2 separate regions of the Homo sapiens genome follow, and region 1 is linked to region 2. The links are contacts of gene promoters, found by promoter capture Hi-C in human tissues and cell types (Jung and others, 2019). All regions are on one chromosome and are shown on one strand. The core of a region is centred on a gene start or on the middle of the fragment in contact, and the rest is flanking DNA. Distances in the headings are between cores, read along the strand shown.

What was found. The method cuts DNA at HindIII sites, captures the fragments that hold promoters and counts their contacts. A contact is called where the count stands out against the background at its distance.
Region 1: a fragment that was not itself captured here is called in contact with the fragment with the promoter of RASSF8 in region 2 in 1 of the 25 tissues and cell types used here (thymus).

What each region holds. Positions count from the first base shown.
Region 1 is chr12:25,698,086-25,704,975 of GRCh38, forward strand. No RefSeq gene overlaps it. Among named protein-coding and RNA genes, the nearest start is that of LMNTD1, 150 kb to the left of the region's middle. The HindIII fragment of the contact is 4,202 bases long and covers 1,645-5,846 here.
Region 2 is chr12:25,955,251-25,961,365 of GRCh38, forward strand. RASSF8 (Ras association domain family member 8) reads left to right here and starts at 3,432. Exons shown (of 6, transcript NM_001394098.1): 1 at 3,432-3,898. RASSF8-AS1 (RASSF8 antisense RNA 1) reads right to left here and starts at 4,192. Exons shown (of 4, transcript NR_038228.1): 1 at 4,076-4,192; 2 at 1,389-1,514; 3 at 977-1,097. RefSeq lists silencers at 3,044-3,533, 3,634-3,733, 3,804-3,853, 3,994-4,043. The HindIII fragment of the contact is 6,427 bases long and covers 1-6,115 here.

The DNA.
Region 1 (6,890 bases), core at 2,496-4,995, 260 kb before region 2:
TCCCTGAACCTTCCTTAGATTTCACGGTCATCTAGAATACTTGCATCCACTCTTCACTCCTTCTTCTCACTCATTCTGCTTACATTGTGGCCAGAAGGCTCAGTCTTCTCTGGGTCCCTTCCTTTGTTCTGTTGCAGGCATTTCCTGAATTATATATCATTTAACCATTTAAGCTGTCTTGGCATCTACATCTAGGAGGACCCAGGGTAACAAACACTGGCCGGGCACGGTGGCTCACGCCTGTAATCCCAGCAGTTTGGGAGGCCAAGGCAGGTGGATGGCTTGAGACCAGGTGTTCGAGCCCCGCCTGGGCAACATGGAGAAACCTCTGTCTCTAAAAACAATGCAGAAATTAGCCAGGCATCATAGCTCCCACCTATAGTCCCAGCTACTCAAGAGGCTGAGGTGGAAAGATCACTTGAGCCCAGGAGGTTGAGGCTGCAGTGAGCAGAGATTGCGCCACTGCACTCCAGCCTGGGTGACAGAGTGAGACCTCATCTAAAAAAGTATATATATATTTATATATTATTTTTAAACCCAAATATTGTAATTTTCTGACTCTTAAAATAATCAGAACACCTTTTTTTTTTAATTTGGTGGTACGTATGCACATAATTTATACAGTGATTGTACCACGTTGTTTGGCTGTATATTTAAAAGGAGAGAGCATAATGTACAGCTTTGTCCTGGCTCCATTTAAACTTGAGGTTGTATCTGCCTCCTGGAATATGTTGATGCAGATTGCACAGTGGAACCAACAGCTTAGGATCTACATCAGTGTAGTACAGTTAGACCCTTAGGTCATCAAAAGACTGCTGATAGAATGATGAATGATGAAAACAGACTTTGGTCACTGTTACAGGTTTTTGTGATGAGATGGATAAAGAGAAATAGAGTTACAACAGTGCTTAGGTGTGAGGTAATTGAGACTAGATCTTGCTGACAATTCAGTTAAGAAACTACATGGAAAAGCCAAAACCACAACTATATCGAAAGGGGAAAAAAATGGCAAAGAAACGACATAATAGAATAGTTGTCTTGAAATTTCCTGTTAAAAAGATGGGCTACTTATAAATAATACCCAACTTGAAGAAGATATAATGCAAGTAAATTTTAGTTTTCCTCACTGCTTCAGATCCACAGATGGGGGTCACTTCATTCTTTTATCCTTTTCCAGGGACAGGAATTTTATTTCCATGCCTCAAGCCCTGACAGCATTTTAGGTTGTGACAAAGGGGCAATCTCCCATGCTAAAACTTAACCCCATGCAGGGGTTTTGAAAATATCAGGGTTATATACATACTTGCAGTTCTGATTTATAACATATTCATGCACATAAGCAGACTACAAATATGTGTTCATAATACACAGAAACTCTGAAAACTAAAATATGCATCATAGCTATGTGTTAGCAGATACAATGGTCATCTTTCAGGCACCCCAGATGGTACTCTGTATTAACAGCATAATCTCTAAATTTGACGCTATGTAGTACAGACAATCATGGACCTGACAAGACTTCTTTTACCAACATTATATTTTGGTCTAAAAAGAGATGTTGTTTGTCTGATTAGAGGTGAGTCACTGGTGCTGAACAAGATTAGCTGTACATAATGTTCAAGAGACTCTCATTCTAAATAAAACACATGAATCCAGACATTGTTGGTAGATATTAACTGTTTGAAATGTTTGTGTTTAAACTACCTGTTCTTATTAAATATAACAATGGCTTAATATACAATTTAATTGCATTTCCCCCAAAGTCCATCAATTGAGTAATTGAAAAAAAATTTTAAAAGGGGTTGGGGTTGAAAAACAGGAAAAACTATGTAGGTATAATTTCCTCATTTCTTTTTTAAAAAATGATAGCAGGACAATAACTTGCTCTAAAACATGTGCGTATTGGAAAGGAGAAGGCAGGGATTGGGAAAGAATTAGAAAACCTGCTGGAATTCTTTGCAATCATCTTAAACCATTGTGTATATATATTTTTAGTAATGGAAAACATACACTACTACTAAGATATTTATGGGATTGCAATAGAAGCCCATTTTCCATCATGGTCTTTCTGTGTTAAAAAGGAAAGAGTAGGCTCCTCCCAAGTTTAAGTCCCCTTTTAGTACTAGCATTTGACAACACCCTCAGGTTTCAAGTTTTCACTTTAGCAGACTACTACGAAACTCTCAAAAATGTTGGTGTTAAAGAGAATACCATCTGGTAAGAAGCAGGTTAATGAACAAGGAGGACTAGCAGTAAAGAGATTTTAGATTCAGGTGCATTTTAAACCAAACTGAAGTTACTTTTATGATAGCAGGCAGATAAGCATCAGTGAAATACCACCAGCACCTCTGTAAAGGGAAAAAGAAGCAAGAATGCAATTAGGTACTGGAGTTGTCCATTTACTTAAATGGTTCCTGGAAAGGAAAAGGAGTCCTACGCCCATTGGATAGAAATGGAAACTAGCAGCCAATGGAACTAAATTGTGATTTTGTTCTTCTTTAAACCCTTTAAGAGAAACATTTTGTTATACAGATAATTACTAGCACCTCCCAAAGACAATTGAACTGGTGGCAATGCCCAGAACATTCTTACTCTACCTTAATGTCATCATTGATCAATTTTATTTAATAATTGTGGTATGACTGTTGTTATTTACACAGCTGGAGTAAAATGTCTCCCTGTGTAGCATAAAGCCATATTTTTGTGTGCTTTTGTTCCTTCATGAGTATCACTTACCAGCTACCCATAATGACATCAGTTAGACTAGGAGTCCCTTGAGCTACAAAATTCTTGGAGTCTATGAGGTGCAAAAGACATGGTTTCTTCTTATAGAAAACAAACAACTGGAGATATCAGTTCTTGGCCAAAACGAAGTACCAGGGAACTGATTTTCTCCACTTGAAATTAATGTAGGCTGGACTGTGGCTCACGCCTATAATCCCAGCACTTTTGGAGGCCGAGGCAGGCAGATCACATGAGGCCAGGAGTTCAAGACAAGCCTGGCCAACATGCCAAAACCCTGTCTCTACTAAAAACACAAAAATTAGCAAGCTGTGGTGGTTCACATCTCTAATCCCAGCTATTCGAGTGGCTGAGGCACAAGAAGGGCTTGAACTCAGGAGGTGGAGGTTGAAGTGAGCTGAGATGGCACTACTGCACTTCAGCCTGGGTGATAGAGTGAAACATTGTCTCTAGAAAAAAAAAAGAAAGAAAGAAATGTAAAATGTGTGAGAAAATAGTTTTCAGACATTGGACAACAGACCAAACCAAAGGACTGAGTTCCCTGTGAGAAGAGACACAGATGAGCCCTAGGACTGCACTTGCTTACCGCCTTGGGAGGGTGTCCCAGACACAGAGCAGGGATAGATCTAACGTAGCATGATAGTCTTGCTGTGTTGACGATACAGAGATCAGAGTTCCAGGTGACTAAGATGACTAGAATTTATGAGGCAGAGTGCCAGAGTGGAGAGAGAGAGAGACAGACACAAGGAGAGGCAGAGAGAGAGAGAGAAGGAGTGCTCTAGAAATCTGCAGAGGGGGCTGGGCATGGTGGCTCACACCTGTAATCCCAGCACTTTGAGAGGCCGAGGTGGTGGGCAGATCACATGAGGTCAGGAGTTTGAGACCAGCCTTGCTAACATGGTGAAACCCCATTTCTACTAAAAATGCAAAAAATTAGCCAGGCATCATGGTGAGCGCCTGTAATCCCAGCTATTGGGGAGGCTGAGGCAAGAGAATAGCTTGAACCTGGGAGGCAGAGGTTGCAGCGAGCCAAGATGGCACCATTGCACCCCAGCTTGGGCAACAAGAGCAAAACTCCATCTAAAAAAAAAAAAGAGAGAAAGAAAAAGAAATCTGCAGAGGGTTCCCTTTGAGTCTTTCAGCTGTGTGCTAATCAGTACATGCATGTGAGAATACTACCCTAGGCTAGGGAAAGCACAAGCTACAAGAAAGGAAAGGAATAGGCATAACAATGTCTAGAGCTCACACAGGGCTGGGAATAGTTTGTGTTCCCACCAGCCAAGTAAAAATATTGCCGTATGCATGGAGCATTGGGAAGAATTATCAGGAGGCCTTAGCGGTGGGGCTAAATTAACCCAAGACCAAAGGCTGCTCAGAATTTACTCTAGCTAAGCTTAAAATTGAGTCTCTAAAGGAACTAACTGATTCCAACTAAGTTAATTGTATGCAGATAAAAACCAAATGCTATTTGAAGAACCACAACAAAATCCAGCACCAACAATGTAACATTCACCATATCTAGCATTCAATTAAAAATTACCAATATGCAAAGAAGTAGCAAAAAAGGATAATTAACCAGGAGAAAAATCAATGAAGAAAACAGACCCAGGTATGATGAAACCAGCAGACAAGAATATTTAAATGGCTAGTATACATGTGATCCACATGTTGAAAATGGTAGAGTAGAACATAATCATGATAAGGAGAGAAGTGGCAGATATAAAAAGGATTCAAATAGAACTTCTGGAGATTAAAAAATGCATTATCTGAGATGAAAAACTTTATTGTATGGTTTTAGCAGTAGATTAGGCCTTACTAAAGAAAAATATCAACGTTAAGACATTGCAACAAAATTATCCAAAATTAAGCATAAAGATTTTTTTAAACTGAAAATGACCAGTGAGACAGTATAAAGTAGCCTAATATAGGCATAATTGGAGTCCTAGAGGATATCAGAGAGAGAGGGACAGAAAAAACTGTTTGAAGAAAGAATGGCTAACGATTTTTCAAATTTGCTGAAAACTATTAAACCACAGATCCAAGACGCTCAACAAACCCAAAGAAGAATAAACATAAAGAACACCACAGCAAGTCACATCATAATCAAGTTTCTGACAACTAACAATAAACAACCTTAAAAGCAGCCAAAGAAAAACAGACACACAACATACAGAGAAACAAAGATAAGAAAGAAAACAATTGACATCTTTCAAGTACTTGTCAATGTAGAATTCTATAAACAGTGAAAGTATGTTTCAGAAATCAGGGCTTAAAAAAGACTTTTCTCAGACAAACAAAGATGAAAAATAACAGACATCTGCAATTGGCTTCACTCCTTTGATATAATTTAAATTATTTGAAAAAAAAAATAAATAAATACTTGCATTACTTAGAATTAGCAAAGGATGGCCCAGGCTTTTCTGAGGTGTAAAGCCTCATCCTCCCCGACTTTTCCTCACACATAGTGCCCTAGCGTGGATTCATACCATATAACACGATGGTAGGTGGCAAACCTGTGCATTCTTTGTAGGAGTGCGGAAGGATCATCTCATCTCGTGTATCATATGTTACAGTGTCTCAATATAAAGGTGACTGCCTCCATAATATACAAATCATAGAAAAGAATTTCCCCCCGTTCTTACTGAAATTAAACTGTATCAGTTTCCTCATATCTAAAACAAGAATATTTGTCTAGGTGATAGCTAATGTTCCTTGTTTGTCTGAAATCACATGAGCCTAATAAAAATGCTATATTTGTTCATTCTTGCATTGTTATAAAGAAATACCTGAGACCAGGCAATTTGTAAAGAAAAGAGATTTAATTAACTCGTGGTTCCACAGGTTGTACAGGAAGCATAGTAATTCTGCTTCTGGGGAGGCCTCAGGAAACTTACAATCATGGTAGAAGGCAAAAGGGAGCAGGCATGACTAATGTGACCAGAGCAGGAGCAAGAGAGAAATTGGGGGAAGGTGCCACACACTTTTAAATGACCAGATCACATGAGAACTCACTCACTATAATGAAAATAGCATCAACATTCACTCTCATGATCCAACCACCTCCTACCAGGCACCACCTCCACCATTTGGGTGGTTTCTATCCTAAATGCAAGGTTTAAAGCAGGGTAGTAATATCAGCTAGTCTTCGTTTTTAAAAGACCACTAATTTTTGGTTAGAGCAGAGCTGTCCCATAGAAATATATTGAAAGACACATTGAAAATTTAAATTTTCTATTGGTTACATTTTAAAAAGGAAAATGAAACAAATCAAATTAATTTTGATAATATAGTTTATTTGACCCCACACACCCAAAGTATTATTGTATCATTATATAATCCATGTAAAATTTTACTATTAAGACATCTTACATTCTTTCTTCATATGAAGTGTTTGAAATTTAATGTGTATTTTATACTTACAGCACTTCTTAGTTCACACTAGCACCGTACTAGACAGAGAAGCTCACTGGAATGAAGTGGAGGAGACTGGAGTGGATGCAGATCCCAGTCCAGAGATTACTTCAGAAGTCCCTGAGAAAGATAAGGACTGCTTGGATTAAGATAGTAACAATAGAGATGGCCGAAAGTGAACAGATTTGAGATTAGTTTGAAGGGAATTAAGAACCATGAAATGAAGGAATGTGAGGAACAGCATTAAAAGGCAAATTACAACAGAAATAAACTGTAAGATAATTCTAAGAATGCTCCTCATTAATACTTTGGTCCTCAATTTTCTCTTTGTGGAAGGGCCTTATTAGCAGACTACATATTTTAACTGTCATGTATGATTTTATTTTCTTTCTTATACTTACTTTTATTTTTGATCAGCTACTTTTCTGTGTTGGTCTGCTTCAAAATTCCTGCTTCTTTATCTATTCATCAATTTATTTAATTTGACTTCATTTTACAATTATTATTGAGTGACTAATTTGTGCTAGGTCTTATGCTAAACATTGGGAAGATAAAGAAAAATAAGAAAAGATACTAGTCATAGCTTTTCTTCTTTCTATATTTCAAGGGAGGCCATTTCATCAGAGACTCTAACCTACAGCCTGCTGGGTAGGGGTTCTGGGAAGTGTAGTTCCCAGTCTTCTCCCCTGCAAGGCAAGGGAAAGTATAGAGAGTGGGCACAGGCTAAGTTGAAATAT
Region 2 (6,115 bases), core at 2,182-4,681:
ACAGGAGCAAGAGAGAGAGGAGGAAGATCACAGACTCTTTTAAACATCCAGATCTTTCATGAACTCATTACTGCAGGGAAGGTACATAGCCACACAAGAGATTCCCCATCACCCAAATACCTTCCACTAGGTCCAACTCCAACATGGCGGTCACATTTCAACACGAAATTTGGAGGGAAAAAACATCCAAACAATATCACCATCTTACAGGCTGGTGTTGTCTGGTGGGCTGTTTGGGAAATACTGGTCTAGACACATTTCTCAAACTTGGCAATATGACTCCACTGGACATTAAAAAGGGATTTCCAGGTATTTCAAGATAAAGGGATTTATTCTCAGGAGCTGCAAACATAAGCTAGGTTTTCTTACAGTGTTAACATCTTGGTTTCAGTTACACGGGTCACCAGATTGATACAGATTTAGCTGAGGTAATAAATCACTGCTTCAGCAATCTTAACAGTCAAGTCAGTTATCTAACGATGATTTGACAAGTAATGAGGTCACCTGCCATTTCCTCCCATAAGTAATTCAACTGCATTTAGTTCATAATACATATGGCTAGAAAAGCATCTAAATCAATTCCTACGATCAGAGAGAGAGATGTCCCCATCACCATGAAGCAGAAGTTACAAAGAAATGGGGGAAGATGCTATGCAGTTGGCCTTAAACATAGAGAAAGGGACTATAAGCCAAGGAATGCAGGTGGCATCTAGAGGCTGAAAAGGGCAAGGAAATGGATTCTCCCCTCGATCCTCCAGAAGGAACACAGCCCACACTTTGATTTTAGATTTCTGACCTCCAGGTCTATAAGATGATCAATTCATCTCTCGATATGGCCTCCTCCTGTTCATTGCCACTGCTCTCCAGTTTAGACTCTCCCTTGGATCTGCCTCTTTTCTGAATCCATCCTCTCAAGTTGTTTTCTTAAAAATCAAATCTTATTATGTCACAGGGTTTGAAGTGCATGAATACTCACTGACTCTAGTTAGGCTCCTTTCCTGGAATATCATTAGAAACCAGAAGTAAGGGTTGTTTACAATTCCCATCAAGGACATTTGGTGTGATCTCAGGAAGGCTTAACAGGGATGTGATTATAGCTACCAAAAAAAAAAAAAAGCTTAAAACAAATTGTACTACACTCTGAAGAAAGAACGCATTAACCAAATGGGCTAGGTAGGGTAAAGATTTTTCTGCACTTATCCAGCACTGAATGGAGGCAAATTCACTGACTTTGGCAGCCATCAGTAAGACTGGAGGTGAGGATACCTGGATTTTTAGGAAGGGTTTTTCCTAAATAGTAGGTATTGTTATCCAATCAGGAAGTTCTGTCCTGATATAAATGCTCATCATATAAGAGTTAGTTATCAAGAGTCAGTCAACTTGCTCACCTCTAGATGTGGTAATACTGAGGTCCAGATCCTCCTGGTGATCAACACAAACTGGATTAAGAGTCAGCTACTCAGTCAGATCCTGAATCCTGGTCCAACGATAACCACACTCTTGCCTGCTACCTGCTTCAAGAAGTACACAAAAGAGGGATCACTACCACAGCCAAAGAAAGGAGGAAAGTTTTTTTTTTTTTTTTTTTTTTTTTTTTGAGATGGAGTTTCGCTCTTGTTGCCCAGGCTGGGGTGCAATGGCGTGATCTCGGCTCACTGCAACCTCTGCCTCCCAGGTTCAAGCGATTCTCCTGCCTCAGCCTCCCAGTTGCTGGGATTGCAGGCATGTGCCACCATGCCCGGCTAATTTTGTATTTTTAGTAGAGACGGGGTTTCTCCATGTTGGTCAGGCTGGTCTCGAACTCCCAACCTCAGGCAATCTGCCAGCCTTGGCCTCCCAAAGTGCTGGGGTTATAGGCATGAGCCACCGCGCCCGGCCAAAAGGCAGAAAGTTCTAAGAAGGAGAGGTCAACATTGGCAAATGCCACAAAGGGCACAAGATGGGAATTAAATTTTTCCATTAGATTTGGCAATTAAGCAATGGCTGATGTTGTTCAGTGGAGTGAAAGGCTGAGAAGGGAATGAGAGGTTAGGAAACATTCACCTTAAGGCTAGGCAACTCCTTTGAAAAGAGTCAAGTAGGGTTAAGGGAGGATCCATGCCCTCCAGGTTGACTTTTAAATCATATTCCCTTTGGTTTTGCATTTGAATCACAGTGAACTTTCTCCTCTCCAAATGTTGATTTGACAAATTTGAGTCTTACCATGGCTCTCTTCTCAGTCCACCTGCAGGTCAAGGAACTAATGAGGTGTGGAGTAACTAAAGGTCAAAAAACAAGAGGAAGAAACAAAGGGCCAAAAAACCCCAAACCTTAAATCAGGTCCTGAGTCAGATACGCTGTAACAAATTCTGCTTCAAGTTTAATATTCTTGTTTTGATGATGTTTAAAAAAAGAAAAATAAAAGCAAGTGTCTGGAAAATTAAAAGGCGGGGTGGGGGGGGGCATTTTAATTGGAATGCTTTCTTGTATCTCATCCACTATCCGCACCCCATCGCCCTGCAAATTAATAGCTGTTGCGGAGTTGGGGTATGTGTGACCACAAAATCCAAAGGCTGAATTTTGCCCAGTGCCTGAGTAATTGCATGCCACACACAAAAAAACAGTAGAATATTGAAAACAACATACACATCTGTATTTCCATATGAAAGCACCCGTTTCCTTTCTTGATTATCTGCTATTTTTAAAGGGGTTGGGAGTGCAGCGGGGCGGGGGGATGAGGCGTTTTTTCTGAATACGAGCCCAGCTCTTTCTAAACTTTTGTTACTCACGTCCGTTTGATTCATTTGCTGTGTTTTTTCTTTCTTTCTTTTTTTTTTTCCCCTCTCCTGCCTCTGTCATTGCCTGCTGCTAAGAGGGACGCTGAATCACAGCCACTGCAGATGAAAAGCAATTCAAACCCAGTCCTTGGAGGGGGGATGGAACGGCTCTTTTTGATTTTTTTCCCCTCTGCAGAAAAAGCCTCCTACTTTCCGGGTGACCGTAGAGGGCAGTTTGACAAGTCTCAGCCCCGGGCGATGGAAGATTTTGCCCGTGGGACCGTCACGAGCCACCGGTCATCTCCCCGCGCCCGGCTTTCGGGTCCTCAGGCCTCGGTGCGTCGCGGGCCAGGCGACAGCGGGGGGGCGTCGCGGGCCGGGCGAGCGTGGCCCGGTGGGCCCGAGGGTCGCGCCGAGCTCCCCGCCGCTTTAAAAGCTCCCACAATGCAGCGCTGGCGTCCCAGTTCCGTTACGAGGTCTCTCCCGGCGCCGGCGAGCGGGCCAGGCGCGGGCGGGGCGCGGAGGAGCGGCGGCTGAAACCCGAGCGCCCGGCCGAGGGGGGCGCCCCCGCGCCGCTCCTCTCGCGCGCTCAGCCGCTGCCCGGCGAAGGGGCGGAGCCGCCTGGCCGCCCGGCCCGGCCCGGCCCGGCCCGGCCCCCAGCCCGGCCCCCAGCCCAGAGGCACCGGCCGCGGGAGCGAGCGGGTCGCCGACTCCTACGCCCGCGCTCCTCCTACGCCCGCGCTCGTCCGGCGCCCCGCGCCGCGCCCCGCTCAGCGTCTGCCGCCCAGCTCCTCGCCCAGCCTCGCCGAGCCTCGCCCTTCCCGCCCGCGGCGGCGTTGGCGCTGGGGGCGGCTCCCGCGGCGTCTCTGCCGCTGGCCGAGCGCTCGCGCACCGCGGCACCCCCGCCAGTGGCGTCCACACTCACCTAGCGCGGGCCGGGAGGTGCGCGGAGAGGGAACGCCGGGGGGCCGGGGCCTCCAGCCGGTGCGGGGCGCGCGGCGCGGGGAGCGCCGGGGAGTGCCGGGGAGTGCGGCGCGGGGACGGGCGCTGGGCGGCCGCGGAGCTCCGGGTGCCGCCGCGTCCCCAGCGCCCCGGCCGGCCCCTCTGGGCGGCCTGCGGGGGCGGCGCAGTTGCGAAACTGAGTAAGTATTAACTTTACTTAGCGGCGGCGATCCGGGCTGCGCCGGGGACCCCGCCCGTCCCGCCTGCAGCCTCGGAGCTGCCCTCCGCCCGGTTGCCCCTCTCTCCGCACCTTGGGTACCTCGTCCGTTCCGCCCCCACCCTGCCCCGCCGCGGGCTCCCGCTCCCTCTGCGTTCACCTTTCCTGGTGTGTCACCCTTTGCGCCTCTCCTCGCGGCACACAAGCCGCGGACTGAAAAGTACGAGCTTGGTCTTTGCTTTTCTGCTTCCTCCCAGTGTCCTTGGCAAGGGAGTTTAGAGGCCACTTTTCTTGCAAAGGGAATTTTATGTCTGGTTTTTAAAATATTTTTTCCTCCGGATGGAAATCGGATGCTCGCTTGCCGGGTGGCGGTTTGGTGAACGCTTTTCTCCTCTAAAAAAATATTGGTTTATAGGTTTTTAAATTTCATTTGAACTATTAACCATCTGCATTCTATTCTCCTTTGCCGCCAGTCCCTTTGGGGAGGGGAGTCCAGAAGAGGGGACGTTCAAAGTAATTCTGACTTGCAAACTAGAAAGTTTGAGAGGGTAAATCGCACAAAGCCGGAAGATTCAACTTGAAGGGACGCGAGCTTTGAATGTGGGTCCTGGTGCGGCACTGGGTTTTAAAAGATGAGTACTTGGGTTCGGAATCCAGTGTTGCGTTGTTATTTTAGCATCATAGAGCCGCCTGGTGTTGCTAAACCACTACTTTCCCAGCCTCAAATGGCATCTTGAACAGTGCAACGTAGGATATATAATTGCGGGTCAATATTGTTGCTGATCTTTAGGGATTTAGAAGCGAAATGAATGCAAATCACGTCTCATAGCTGACTTAAACCTGTCAGGTTAGCCCTGTCAGGTTAGCATTAAAGCATTTCATTAAAAAAAAAAATCCTCTAGCCCTGTGACAGCAGGGACGAACATTTATGGATTTTCCAGTAGATTGTGGCTCAGCAATTCATTAGATCTGCTTTGTCCCCAGGAAGCATTTTAAAATATGTATAAATCTCTGCTTTTCTCTCCATTAGATTAACCACTCATTCTGGTAGGGGGCCCCAGGTAGTTTTTATTTTCTTTTTTGCCTTTCATCTTGGAGTTGCCAGGAGTTGCCATCATGTTATGAAGGAACAGAAAATGAGAAGCTTTCTTAATGGGTTTTCGACATCCTGTCCTTTGCCAGAGTGAGGCGGTAGTGAATGCCAGCCAGCTTTCTGCAGGGAGAGGTGCAGGGTGGACGCAAAAATCAGGACGCAGGAGACAGCACTATCATTTGGGGAAGTGGTTTGTGTGAGTTTTATCTTTTAGCGGGCATACTAATGGTACTTTTAATTTTATTTATCTCTATGAGGCACACTCCCCAAACCATAAAATTACACATGACCATCCCCCACTTGAAGAAGACTGAACATAGTTTGATGATTATTCTATTCAAGGATCAAGTACAACAAAATATAATTTGTAATACAGATGATAAAACCTTTCAAAAATCTCCCCCTTCCTCATTTTTTTCCTCAAGAGTCTCCAGGTGGTACTTTCTGTGATGGACACAATTGGCAGTAATGCACTGAGTTCTTTCTAGGTTTATTGATCAAATCTTATGTCTGGGCTTTAGTAGCTTAGGGGTGCATTAGAGGGCCCTGAGAGGGAGCAAATCATGGGGCTGTGCAGGCAGGAAAGGCACTTCACTTTGCAGAAGTGTCAGTGTGCTTCTGGAAAAAACAGTTACAAAGAACAGAGAGTGTTTAAGTTGTTTATAGGATGCATGTTTCCTGAATTTGGCATTTGGTTCAGATATTTGGTAATTACAGATTTAAAATTCGACATGGTTGTATAATTTGTTTTGCCTTTTATTTATTTTTTTAAGGTTGCAACCTTTTAACCTGAATCTTCAGTGTTTGGCTCTTGTAGGCTTCTATACGTGGTGACTTACGTCAGTTTTTGACCTGACTGCCTTGTGTTTTGAGAAATGATTAGTTCTTCAGGGTTTCTGACTCATTAATTGATCTGTTTTATGTTGATGTATATAATGACTTGGAAGTAAAAATATTGTTTGCCGTGGGATATTGTTGTCTTTTTCTTATGGTTAATTCCTGGCATAATGGCTTTGCTCCTTTATTATAAAACATTAAGATCTTAGATATCTTGCTAGTGTTCAAAACATTACAAAACTCTTTGCAAGTAAAAGTGGAGTGGGAATG